Linked DNA regions of Homo sapiens: region 2 is linked to region 1. Evidence: promoter capture Hi-C in human tissues and cell types (Jung and others, 2019). All regions are on one chromosome and are shown on one strand. The core of a region is centred on a gene start or on the middle of the fragment in contact, and the rest is flanking DNA. Distances in the headings are between cores, read along the strand shown. Region 1 holds the start of BNIPL (BCL2 interacting protein like). Region 2 overlaps RPRD2 (regulation of nuclear pre-mRNA domain containing 2).

The links. Contacts are between HindIII fragments. The study calls those that stand out against the background at their distance.
Region 2: a contact is called between a fragment that was not itself captured here and the fragment with the promoter of BNIPL in region 1, in 1 of the 25 tissues and cell types used here (lymphoblastoid cells).

What each region holds. Positions count from the first base shown.
Region 1 is chr1:151,033,773-151,039,547 of GRCh38, forward strand. BNIPL (BCL2 interacting protein like) reads left to right here and starts at 2,814. Exons shown (of 10, transcript NM_138278.4): 1 at 2,814-2,994; 2 at 3,795-3,890; 3 at 4,732-4,796; 4 at 5,024-5,254. The coding sequence starts at 2,954. It overlaps PRUNE1 (prune exopolyphosphatase 1), which reads left to right. Exons shown (of 8, transcript NM_021222.3): 8 at 34-1,941. The coding sequence ends at 462. The HindIII fragment of the contact is 8,096 bases long and covers 1-3,689 here.
Region 2 is chr1:150,475,669-150,481,443 of GRCh38, forward strand. It overlaps RPRD2 (regulation of nuclear pre-mRNA domain containing 2), which reads left to right. Exons shown (of 11, transcript NM_015203.5): 11 at 1-898. Among named protein-coding and RNA genes, the nearest start is that of TARS2, 8.9 kb to the right of the region's middle. The HindIII fragment of the contact is 7,423 bases long and covers 1-5,775 here.

The DNA.
Region 1 (5,775 bases), core at 1,564-4,063:
TGTATCATTTCCCTGTTATTGTCTCCTCTTTAGATCTGTGAAGTCCTGGAACGCTCCCACTCTCCACCCCTGAAGCTGACCCCTGCCTCAAGTACCCACCCTAACCTCCATGCCTATCTTCAAGGCAACACCCAGGTCTCTCGAAAGAAACTTCTGCCCCTGCTCCAGGAAGCCCTGTCAGCATATTTTGACTCCATGAAGATCCCTTCAGGACAGCCTGAGACAGCAGATGTGTCCAGGGAGCAAGTGGACAAGGAATTGGACAGGGCAAGTAACTCCCTGATTTCTGGCCTGAGTCAAGATGAGGAGGACCCTCCGCTGCCCCCGACGCCCATGAACAGCTTGGTGGATGAGTGCCCTCTAGATCAGGGGCTGCCTAAACTCTCTGCTGAGGCCGTCTTCGAGAAGTGCAGTCAGATCTCACTGTCACAGTCTACCACAGCCTCCCTGTCCAAGAAGTGACTGTTGAGAGGCGAGGAGGTAGTGGGTGAGGCTACCTGACTCACTTCAAATGCATGTTTTGAGATGTTTGGAGATTCAGCAATTCTGTCTTCATTGCTCCAGGATCTGGTATACTGTTCTCATAAAACTGAGAGGAGAAAAAAAGTGAAAGAAAGCAGCTGCTTTAAGAATGGTTTTCCACCTTTTCCCCCTAATCTCTACCAATCAGACACATTTTATTATTTAAATCTGCACCTCTCTCTATTTTATTTGCCAGGGGCACGATGTGACATATCTGCAGTCCCAGCACAGTGGGACAAAAAGAATTTAGACCCCAAAAGTGTCCTCGGCATGGATCTTGAACAGAACCAGTATCTGTCATGGAACTGAACATTCATCGATGGTCTCCATGTATTCATTTATTCACTTGTTCATTCAAGTATTTATTGAATACCTGCCTCAAGCTAGAGAGAAAAGAGAGTGCGCTTTGGAAATTTATTCCAGTTTTCAGCCTACAGCAGATTATCAGCTCGGTGACTTTTCTTTCTGCCACCATTTAGGTGATGGTGTTTGATTCAGAGATGGCTGAATTTCTATTCTTAGCTTATTGTGACTGTTTCAGATCTAGTTTGGGAACAGATTAGAGGCCATTGTCTTCTGTCCTGATCAGGTGGCCTGGCTGTTTCTTTGGATCCCTCTGTCCCAGAGCCACCCAGAACCCTGACTCTTGAGAATCAAGAAAACACCCAGAAAGGCCTTAATGACCTCATAGGCACTCTTCCAAAAAGACAACAGAACTGGAATGAGAGGCCTGGGTCTGTCTCCTGCCTTAGCAGGCCTATCAATTTCTTGTCAATCTCTTTTTTTCCTTGCTCACATTAAAAGGAAGCATGGAGTTCTAATGCTCCCATAAACTATGTATTTTGGCAAGACACTTCACTACTCCAGGTCTCACTTTCCCCATCTGTAAAACAGGGTTTGGACTAGGTGTTCCCTGGTATTCTGTGATCTGCCTCTTGCTGCCATTCTTTCTCTCCTCTGCTTCTCTGTATTTTTCTTCTGTTATCCCTGGGGGTGCTCAGGTTCACTTGATTGTCTGTATTTCTGTGTGGTTGTAGCAAGGACTCAGCCTCATGTAGCACGAATAGGGGTGTGGTTCATGGCGTGTTGACCCAGCAGAGCACTCCCTCCCACTAACTTGTTCTGCATGTGTAGAGTCTCCCCATTTTTTTTAACGCAACCCTTTCCCCTTTTTCCTACCCCACAGCTCTGTTCCATGTAAGTTGCCAACAGTTTCACTGAACAGTGGGGTATGTGATGGTTTTGGCATGACATCTTCAGTATGAGGGGGACAGTTTGACTTCACTTTGAGGGTGTGATGTCTGTAGCTATGTGGAAGGTAAAAATAGTGGTGTGATCATGAACCAAAGGAATTTATGTTTTGTAACTTGGGTACTTTATTTTGCATTTTGTTATACTATTAAATAATTTTTTCCTGTTTGGGGGTCTTACTGTCTTTTTTTACAAGTGTATTCAGGCCTTTCTCTGTGATAGTTGTTTCAGTCTCCTCAAAATTGATCCCCCTTCTTCCTACTATACTTAATGTCTTCTTTCTGTTGACTCTTTTTGGGAATAAGGAGCAACAGGCTTCTGTCTCCCCTCATCCTCAGCCTCCCGTTCAACTTGTTTATTCTCCCAGAAACCTCCTTATAACATACTTCCGTTTCCCCAGTTTTCCTTATGCTTGAAAAGTAGATCCAAGATAACAGTCCTAGAAACACACACAATGGTTTCTTTTTCTTTTTTTTTTTTTTTTTGAGATGGAGTTTTGCTCTTTTTGCCCTGGCTGGAGTGCAATGGCACAATCTCAGCCCACTACAACCTCTGCCTCCCAGGTTCAAGCGATTCTCCTGCCTCAGCCTCCCAAGTAGCTGGGATTATAGGCATGTGTCACCACGCCCAGATAATTTTTTTTTTTTTTTTTTTTTTTTTTTTTTTTTGGATTTTTAGTAGAGATGGGGTTTCTCCACATTGGTCAGGCTGGTCTCAAACTCCCGACCTCAGGTGATCCGCCTGCCTTGGCCTCCCAAAGTGTTGGGATTACAGGTGTGAGCCACCACGCCCGGCCAGAAACACAACGGTTTCTACTGGTTTTTTTGCTTATTTGTGTAAAGAGCAACTTTGAGAGGGATATATGGAGTCTGGAAAGGAGAACAAATTGCCTTCCTAGACTCAACCGAGACTGGCCCCCACTAGAAAATGCACTCTCCTCCCCAAAACCCGCCCCCTCACAGGAGGCAGGGTTTTTCTTTTGGGCAAACCTGCTCCTGGGGAGAGGAGTGGCAAAACCTGTTTTGAAGATGAGGTTACCTCCCTTCCACACCTCCCTCCTTGGAGGCAAGAGCTACAACAGCTGAGACAGAAAAGAGGTAAGGAAGTGTTGGGGGCTGGGACAACCAGCTCCCCAACAACTCCTAGGTGTTTAAAGAAGGAGGCAGGAAGACTTGTGAAGATGGGAACTATACAAGAGGCAGGAAAAAAGACAGATGTTGGGTAAGTAAGATCTTGGCTCACTTGATTGGTAACAGTGAATAAACAGTCCGGAGAGACTTCCCCACCACCCAGCTCTTACTGGGTCAAATCTCGGGTTCCTCAAGGAGACAAGACTGTAAGAGAGTTTGCAGAGAAGAGATGAGGGTGGTTTTAGGTAGGAAATGTCAGTATGGTATGGAACTGGGGAACAGGATTCCAGGATAATTCCCTGGTTTAAAAATAAAGGAAGTTTCTGTAATATGTTGTACCTGATAAATCTGCCTGTGTTCTTTTATTTTCTAACCCTCACCCTCCAGAATGGCCATCAGGAAAGCTGAACCAGAACCGAGTTTAGGTCCAGGTTCTCGTTCTGGCAAATCTTTCTCCTTACCTTCTTCCTCCACCCCTCCACTTATGCCATGTTTTCCCTTAGCCACTCCCCAGCTCGGTGGAGGAAAGGCAGGCCTAACTAGGTACCGTCTTCCCGACTTTGCTCAATGATAGCTGGGTGGGTCTAGCTGGGTTCCAGCCACTTGTAATGTGGGACATCTCTCACCCCAACTTTGTAGGTGGAGCAACTGCTACAGAGGTAAATATGATTAACTTTACATTCCATCTTTCGTCTGCTCCCAAACTTAACAGCAGGTAATCTGCTTCTAGCAAGTGGTGAAGGTAAGAGAAGCATCTGTATAGGAGGCAAGAGATCTGAGTCCTTTTGAAGGCCTATCCTCTGCTCTGTATCTCAATTACTGTTCTTCATTTCAATTATTCTTACCTACTATTCAGTTCCCTTGATCTTTTCTTCTTGGGGGCTGTCTTAGGGTCAGGGAGATTGCAGAAGCACCAGAACTAGGAGCAGCCCTGAGACATGGGGAGTTGGAGCTGAAGGAGGAATGGCAGGATGAAGAATTCCCTAGGTGAGGACGTGTGAGGGTGGCTGGGAGAAGGGAGGGGTGGTCACGAATGGACGGAGGGGATGGCGCGGCGGCTCATGGCTGTAATCCCAGCACTTTGGGTGGCCGAGGCGGGTGGATCACCTGAGGTCAGGAGTTTGAGACCAGCCTGACCAACACGGTGAAATCCCGTCTCTACTAAAAATACAAAATTAGCCAGGTGTGGTGGCACATGCCTGTAATCCCAGCTACTCGGGAGGCTGAGGCAGGAGAATCACTTGAACCTGGGAGGCAGAGGTTGTAGTGAGCTGAGATTGTGCCATTACACCCGAGCTTGGGCAACAAGAGTGAAACTCTGTCTCAAAAAAAAAAAAAAAAAAAAAAAAAAAAAGCAAATGGACACAGGGATGGTGAATTAGGACTTGAAGGAAAAAAATGGGAAAAAGAAAACAGAGGCCGGGCGTGGTGGCTGATGCCTGTAATCCCAGCACTTTGGGAGGCCGAGGCAGGTGGATCACTTGAGCTCAGAAGTTCAAGACTACTCTGGGCAACATGGCATAACCCCATCTCTACAAAAATACAAAATTTAGCCAAGTGTGGTGGTGCACACCTGTAGGCCCAGCTACTCGGGAGGCTGAGGTGGGAGGACCGCTTGAACCCTGGAGGTAGAGGCTGCAGTGAGCTGTGATTGTGCCACTGCATTCCAGCCTGGGCAACAGAGTGAGACCCTGTCTCAAAAAAACAATTAAAAAAAAAAGCAGCATAGGTGATAAAATCATGGTGGGGAGAGAGAACCTATATATTGAGTCCTGGCTTGATGCCTTTGGTGTATATGTCTGCCGCCTTTTAATCTCTTCCCCTCTAGATTGCTTCCTGAGGAGGCTGGCACTTCTGAAGATCCTGAAGACCCTAAAGGAGATTCACAGGCAGGTAGGTCAAGTAGAAACCAGGCCTCAAGTTCTTGATTCTAGTCCAGTAAAGGGCTATGCCACCTCTATCCTTTTACAGTTCCATTTCCCCCTTTTCCCAAATCTCCCCTGCGTGAGTCCTTCTTCAGCATTCACCCCATATTATCACTTTCACATACAGGAATTCTAGCCCTCTCGGCTCTCCAACACACACACCCATCTTGGTTCTCTTTTTCCCCCTTTCTCCAGCTGCAGGTACCCCCAGCACTTTAGCCCTGTGTGGCCAGCGCCCCATGCGCAAGCGTCTTTCTGCCCCAGAGTTGCGGCTGAGTCTGACTAAGGGGCCTGGAAATGATGGAGCTTCACCCACCCAGTCTGCACCTTCCTCTCCTGATGGCAGTTCTGACCTGGAGATAGACGAATTGGAGACACCTTCAGACTCGGAGCAGCTGGACAGTGGACATGAATTTGAATGGGAAGGTGGGAAACAAACCAGAGGACTCAGCTGGTAGAAGTAGAGGCTAGAGCTAAAGGATCAGGATGGACTTAATGGGACTGCAGTTAGAACTAATAAGGTGGGACCAAGGGCTACGGCCAGCAAAATTAGTTTCCTCAAATGGAACTTGGGCTTATAGGTCCAATGTGAGAGTAGTCAGTAGAGGGGGAGGGGAGCCCATTGTTTATTAAGGAAAATTTAATTGAATGCCTGTTACATACTATCATGTATAGGACTGGGGTTATAAAGATGAATAAGAGAGGGCCTACAGGGAATTCTCTGCTTAGTAGGAAATAAACATATATAAAAATAATTGCAGTTAAAGGTTATGATCTATATATGTGTAGGGTACAGTGTAGACAGGGAGAAGGAAAAGGTCAGTTCTGCCTGAGAGATGTTAGGAAAGGCTTCATGAAGGAGATGATTCTGAGCTAAGTGTTGAAAACTGAAGCTGACATTTATCAGGTAGTTGGAGAGAGGGCATTCTAAGGAGAAGAAGCAGAAG
Region 2 (5,775 bases), core at 2,238-4,737, 560 kb before region 1:
GAAATCTTAAAATTTACATTTACATCAGTAAATGAAGATGACAGTGTGTATATATGTGATAAATAGTGAAACAGAAAAGACAGTTCTGGTATTCATAACGTGAAAGAAAGGGGTTTTATTCTTTCTGTGTCTGTGATTTAAAACTCCGTGACCATGCTCTGACTTTTGTATTTCAACCTGAGTTTAAACAAATAAACAAGATATTTTTTAAAGAAAGCATAACATAGTGTGTCTTAGCAAGGACATGATTCATATGGAAGCAGAATGTGAGAAGTTGTAAGGTCCTTGGTACTCACTGTAAAATCACAGACAGAGAATTGGTAGGGGTTGTGAATACACTAGTACCACTTAAAGTTCAGTGATACAGTTCAGAAATAGGGTCCTTAAGTATTTTGAAAGAGTTTACTCTTCAGTCAGCTTAGATGAGAGCTCTCTCCCTGCTCCCCTCTACCCTCTCAAAAGTTGAGAGTAAATAGAATTTGGTTTGATTCCAGGGAGGGGAAAATAAGCAGAGAATAGGACTTTTATACTTTCCAATACCAGGAATAAAATGTTTGTGATATATATGGGTCCAGCAAACCTATCGAGATAATGTGAATACGATAAACTTCCTAATGGCAGGATATTCACTCTCAATCCTGAAGTTACCGGTTCCTGCAGAATTGAGCTTCAGCTGTTACTGTTTTGAAGCCGCTGTAAATTACTGCTTTCCCCAGTTCCCCCACTATTTTTTTTAAGTGGGCGGGGGCGCCTGTTAAGATCTAAAATAGATATGTTGGATTGATATTCTCACGTGTTCGGTGTGGAAAACAAAACAAGTACATGCTTTAGAAGCAACAACAATGAAATCCTTTTGAAATGTGTGTTAATATCGTTTAATAAAATAACTAGTTTGAAAGGTTTGACATTTTTCTTTGAGACGGGCTTGGACCAGGGGCCCCTGGCTTCCTAGTGAGTGCAAATAGGAGGGAACTTCTCAGGAGCTGAAACCGCTGCTTTGTGGAGCAGGCCTGTGGTTGGAAAACCTAAGTTTTCTCTAGCAAAGACCCAGCCTGACTGTCCAGGGCCGAAGGTGAAACCAACTAGAGAATGCAGAAGGAAAAGCCTGGATATATCTCAGAAGATATGGTTGTATTGGCTTTTGGTCCAAGGGTATGGGGGTGGGAGTAGTGGTGTGTGCGCCCACACATTTCTCAGGCACACACAGAGATACCACAGACCACCCACTTCGTAACCACTTGCACTTTACTCTCTTCCAGACGTTCCTTTTTTTTTTAATCCCTTTGTCCCCATTATTTTGTTTTCCAGTTTAATAAAGTATGGTTTCCTTTGTTGTGTGGTTGACTTTTCCCCTCCTGTTGATCTTTTCCAGATGTCCCCTTTGACTTCTGCACTTAATGTCACTGAAGGCAATCTGAGCCTCTTAAGATCTTTATGGCCTTGTGGGTTTTCTGTTTGATCCTTTGTGTAATTGAATTTTGGAAAGGGATAATGGGTCGGGTGAGTTCTAGATGTTCAGGGAGTGGTTGGTGAAGTGGGATATACTGTATTAATAATTTTTTGTGCATGTCTTCAAAAGGTTGTGCAACTGTGAGCCAAGAAGCATTTTTAAAGCAAGCATAGAATTGGGGGTTTGGGGTGGTAGCAGGGATCCTTCTGGCCAATTATTTGCCCACATCTGCCCTTACTGCATATTGGCAATCTGTTGTGCAGAAGCCACACTTAACCCTTCTGTCTTACCCCATCCCTTGTTCATAACCCAGTGAGGCTGGGTTGGAATGCTGGCTGTAAGGGGTAAAGAGGGATAGTCACTGCATCTGGGCCAGGCCTGGGTCACTGGCAGGGTAGAAGGCTCTAAATAGCAGCCTTGCTTATGTGAAGGTACGTACATGTGTCACCAGACACTTAAATAGCAGTGGCCTGGGAACACACCCAGCAGGTAGGGTGTACCACTGTACTGGAATCTGGCTCACCCTTTTTTTCCTTGTCTCTTGGGACCTTGACTTGCCCACCTGATTTCTATATCTACCCCTAAAGAAGCAACAGCTTTGAGACTTCCTCATAAGGTTTTCTGGGCATGTTATTCATAATTTCCTCTGCCTAATTTTTTTTTTTAATGTAAGCCAATCTTGTGTAGCAGGGATGAGTTATTCCTTCATGTATGTAGACGTAGCAATGCAAACACAATCAGAATGGGTTTTGGGGTATTGGGGCGTTTCTCATACTTGTTTATGAGTAACTGTATGGACAAGTCCGGTCAGCTGCTGTTCACAATTGCTAAGTAATAACTCACTGAGGCTGCATAGGCAAGGCTACGAGAGGGTCATCAGTAAGAGAGATATTGGCCCTTAAGTAAACATCCTGTTCTGTCTTCCCCATGTAGAAGGAAATAGAAGCACTCTAAAGCAAAGAAGCAAGTGCAGTGTAAAACTATCAGTTACTTTTAATTAATTGCTGGGGAAAGAAAGGAGAAGCCTTTGCTTAGTTACAAGTTTGAGGGGAAGAGGATAAGAAGGCCAACATCTATGTAAAAGTTGATCATTGCAGTTACAGTCAACCCTCCTCGGTATCCATGAAGGATACCAGGTTCCAGGACCCCCATGGATACCAAAATCCACAGATGCTCAAGTCCCCTACATACAATGGCATAGTATTTGCATATAACCTACACACATCATCCAGTAAATTTTAAATCATCTCTAGATTACTAATACCTAATACAATGTGAGTGCTATGTACATAGTTGTATACAGTATGTTTTGAAATTTGTGTTACTTTTAATTTTTTTATTACCTTTTCCTGAATACTTTTGTGGTTGGTCGAATCCATAGATGCAGAACCCCCAGACAGAGCCAACTGTACATTTCCTTTTTTAAATGTTACGTTTTTCTATCCTTTGTTCACACCTAGGGAAGAATCAAAAATTGAGAATACAGATATGGGTGGAGGGGCTAGTGAATTCTTCAGTGCCAACTGAGGAAACACAAATACAGACTAGGCGTGGTGGCTCACGCTTGTAATCCCAGCACTTAGGGAGGCTAAGGCGGGCAGATCGCTTGAGATCAGGAGTTCAAGACCAACCTGGACAATATGACAAAGCCCTGTCTACTAAAAATACAAAAATTAGGGCCAGGCGTGGTGGCTCACGCCTGTAATCCCAGCACTTTGAGAGGCCAAGGCAGGCGGATCACGAGGTCAGGAGTTTGAGACCAGCCTGGCCAATATGGTGAAACCCCATCTCTACTAAAAATACAAAAATTAGCTGGGCGTGGTGGCACGCGCCTGTAATCCCAGCTACTCAGGAGGCTGAGGCAGGAGAATCGCCTAAACCTGGGAGGCGGAGGTTGCAGTGAGGCAAGATCGCACCACTGCATTCCAGCCTGGGTGACAGAGCAAGACTCTGTCTCGGAGTGGGGGGAGGGGGGGACATTAGCTGGGCATGGTGGCACGCACCTGTAATCCCAGCTACTTGGGAGGCTGAGGCAGGAGAATCGCTTGAACCCGGGAAGCAGAGGTTGCAGTGAGCCAAGATTGTGCCATTGCACTCCAGCCTGGGTGACAGAGTGAGACGCCGTCTCAAAAGGAAAACACAAATGCAGGTTGCAGGTTTTTGTGTTTGACTTGAGAGTTGGCTAAACCAGTCTACCCTGGACATGTTCAGGGTCATGGTAAATTGGATATTCCAGCGATCTTCCTTCCTCATCCCCATTGTGTCCCCTTATTTTCGAGAATTACTCATATCCTTTGCCACATAATTTGTGGGAGAGGAGAGAAAAGGACTTGAAACTTGCTACATTTTTCTTGGGGTGTTTCAGTTGGAATGGGTAGAAAGGAGACCGACAGCATCCCTTTCCTCTGTTTCTCCCTCCTCCCTGGCTAACAGTCCTTTGCACCTACATGAGACAACACTGAAGATAGTCAATCATTGCCAGGGGCAATAGTGATTAGGAAATGATTTGAAATCTTTATTATTTAGAAGTGAGCCTCAGTTGTATGCAGGTTGAGCATCCCAAATCCAAAGTCCAAAATCTGAGCACGAAAATGACACTCAAAGGAAATGCTCATTGGAGGATTTCGGATTTTCAGATTAGGGATGCTCAAGCAGTAAGTATAATGCAAATATTCCAAAATCTGAAAAGATTCAAAATCAGACACTTTTGGTCCCAAATATTTCAAATAAGGATACTCAACCTGTATTTCCTTCTACAGATGTTATCTAGGACCTTCTTTTAGAGTACTTTGTCCTTCCCTTTGTTTTTTACTTTAGCGTGGAACCTAAATGGACACATCCCTACCCTAGACTAGCTCCTGTGTTTGGCGGATCTCCTCTTTTTGCCCTGACCTGACATATCAGTTGTGTAAGAGCTGGGGTGGGAGTGTCTGCTTGTTTTTCTTCTACAGCCCCAAGAGATGTTCTGGGAAGGGAAATCTTAGTAGAGATTTTAGGTGAGCCCAAGGGTTTGTTTTCAAAGTCAAAGTTCAATTTATCCATGCCCCTGACAGAAAGCTTTTACCTCTTTACTCATTCAGCAAATGTGGCTGAACATTCTCTCCCATTGTGGCTTTTCTTTTTTTTTTTTAATAGAGACAGGGTCATGCTTTGTTGCCCAGGTTGGTCATAAACTCCTGGGCTCAAGCAGTCCTCCTGCCTTGGCCTCCCAAAATGCTGGGATTACAGACATGAGGCACTGTTCCCGGACACATTGTGGCATTTTATTTTATTGATTTTATTTTTATTTTATTTATTTTATTTTTTGAGACGGAGTATCATTCTTTTTTGCCCAGGCTGGAGTGCAATGGCGAAATCTAGGCTCACTGCAACCTCTGCCTCCCAGGTACAAATGATTCTCCTGCCTCAGTCTCCCAAGTAGCTGGGATTATAGGCATGTGCCACCATGCCTGGCTAATTTTTTTTTTTATTATTATTTAGTAGAGACAGGGTTTTACCATGTTGGTCACGCTGGTCTAGAACTCCTGACCTCAGGTGATCCACCCACCTCGGCCTCCCAAACTGCTGGGATTACAGGCGTGAGCCACTGTGCCCGGCCTGATTTTATTTTATTTTATTTTATTTTATTAATTTTGAGATGGAGTTTCACTCTTGTCACCCAGACTGGAGTGCAATGGCGCGATCTCGGCTCACTGCAACCTCCACCTCCTGGTTCAAGCAATTCTGCCTCAGCCTCCCAAGTAGCTGGGATTACAGGTGCCCACCACCACGCCCAGCGAATTTTTGTATTTTTAGTAGAGACGGTGTTTCGCCATGTTGGCCAGGCTAGCCTCAAACTCCTGGCCTCAAGTGATCCACCCGCCTTGGCCTCCCAAAGTGCTGGGATTACAGGCATGAGCCACCATGCCCAGCCCTTTTATTTTATTTTTAGAGACGGGGGCCTCACTCTGTTGTACATGCTGGAGTGCAGTGTCATAATCATAGCTCACTGTAACCCAACTCCTGGGCTGAAGCAACTCTCACCTCAGCCTCCTGAGTAGCTGGGACTACAGGCATGCACCACCATGCCCAGCTAATTTTTTTTATTTTTGTAGAGATGGGATCTCACTATGTTATCCAGGCTGGTCTTGAATTCCTGGGTTCAAACGGTCCTCTGCCTTGGCTTCCCAAAGTGCTGGGATTATAGGTGTGGGGCACCATGCCCAGCCTATGATGGCATTTTAAAGCAAAGTTAAAGATTGGCCCCATCCCAGATCTTCCACTTACATTACTAGGGAATTATTTTTTAAAAAATAAACCTAACTTCCCTACCACTTGTGCCTTTA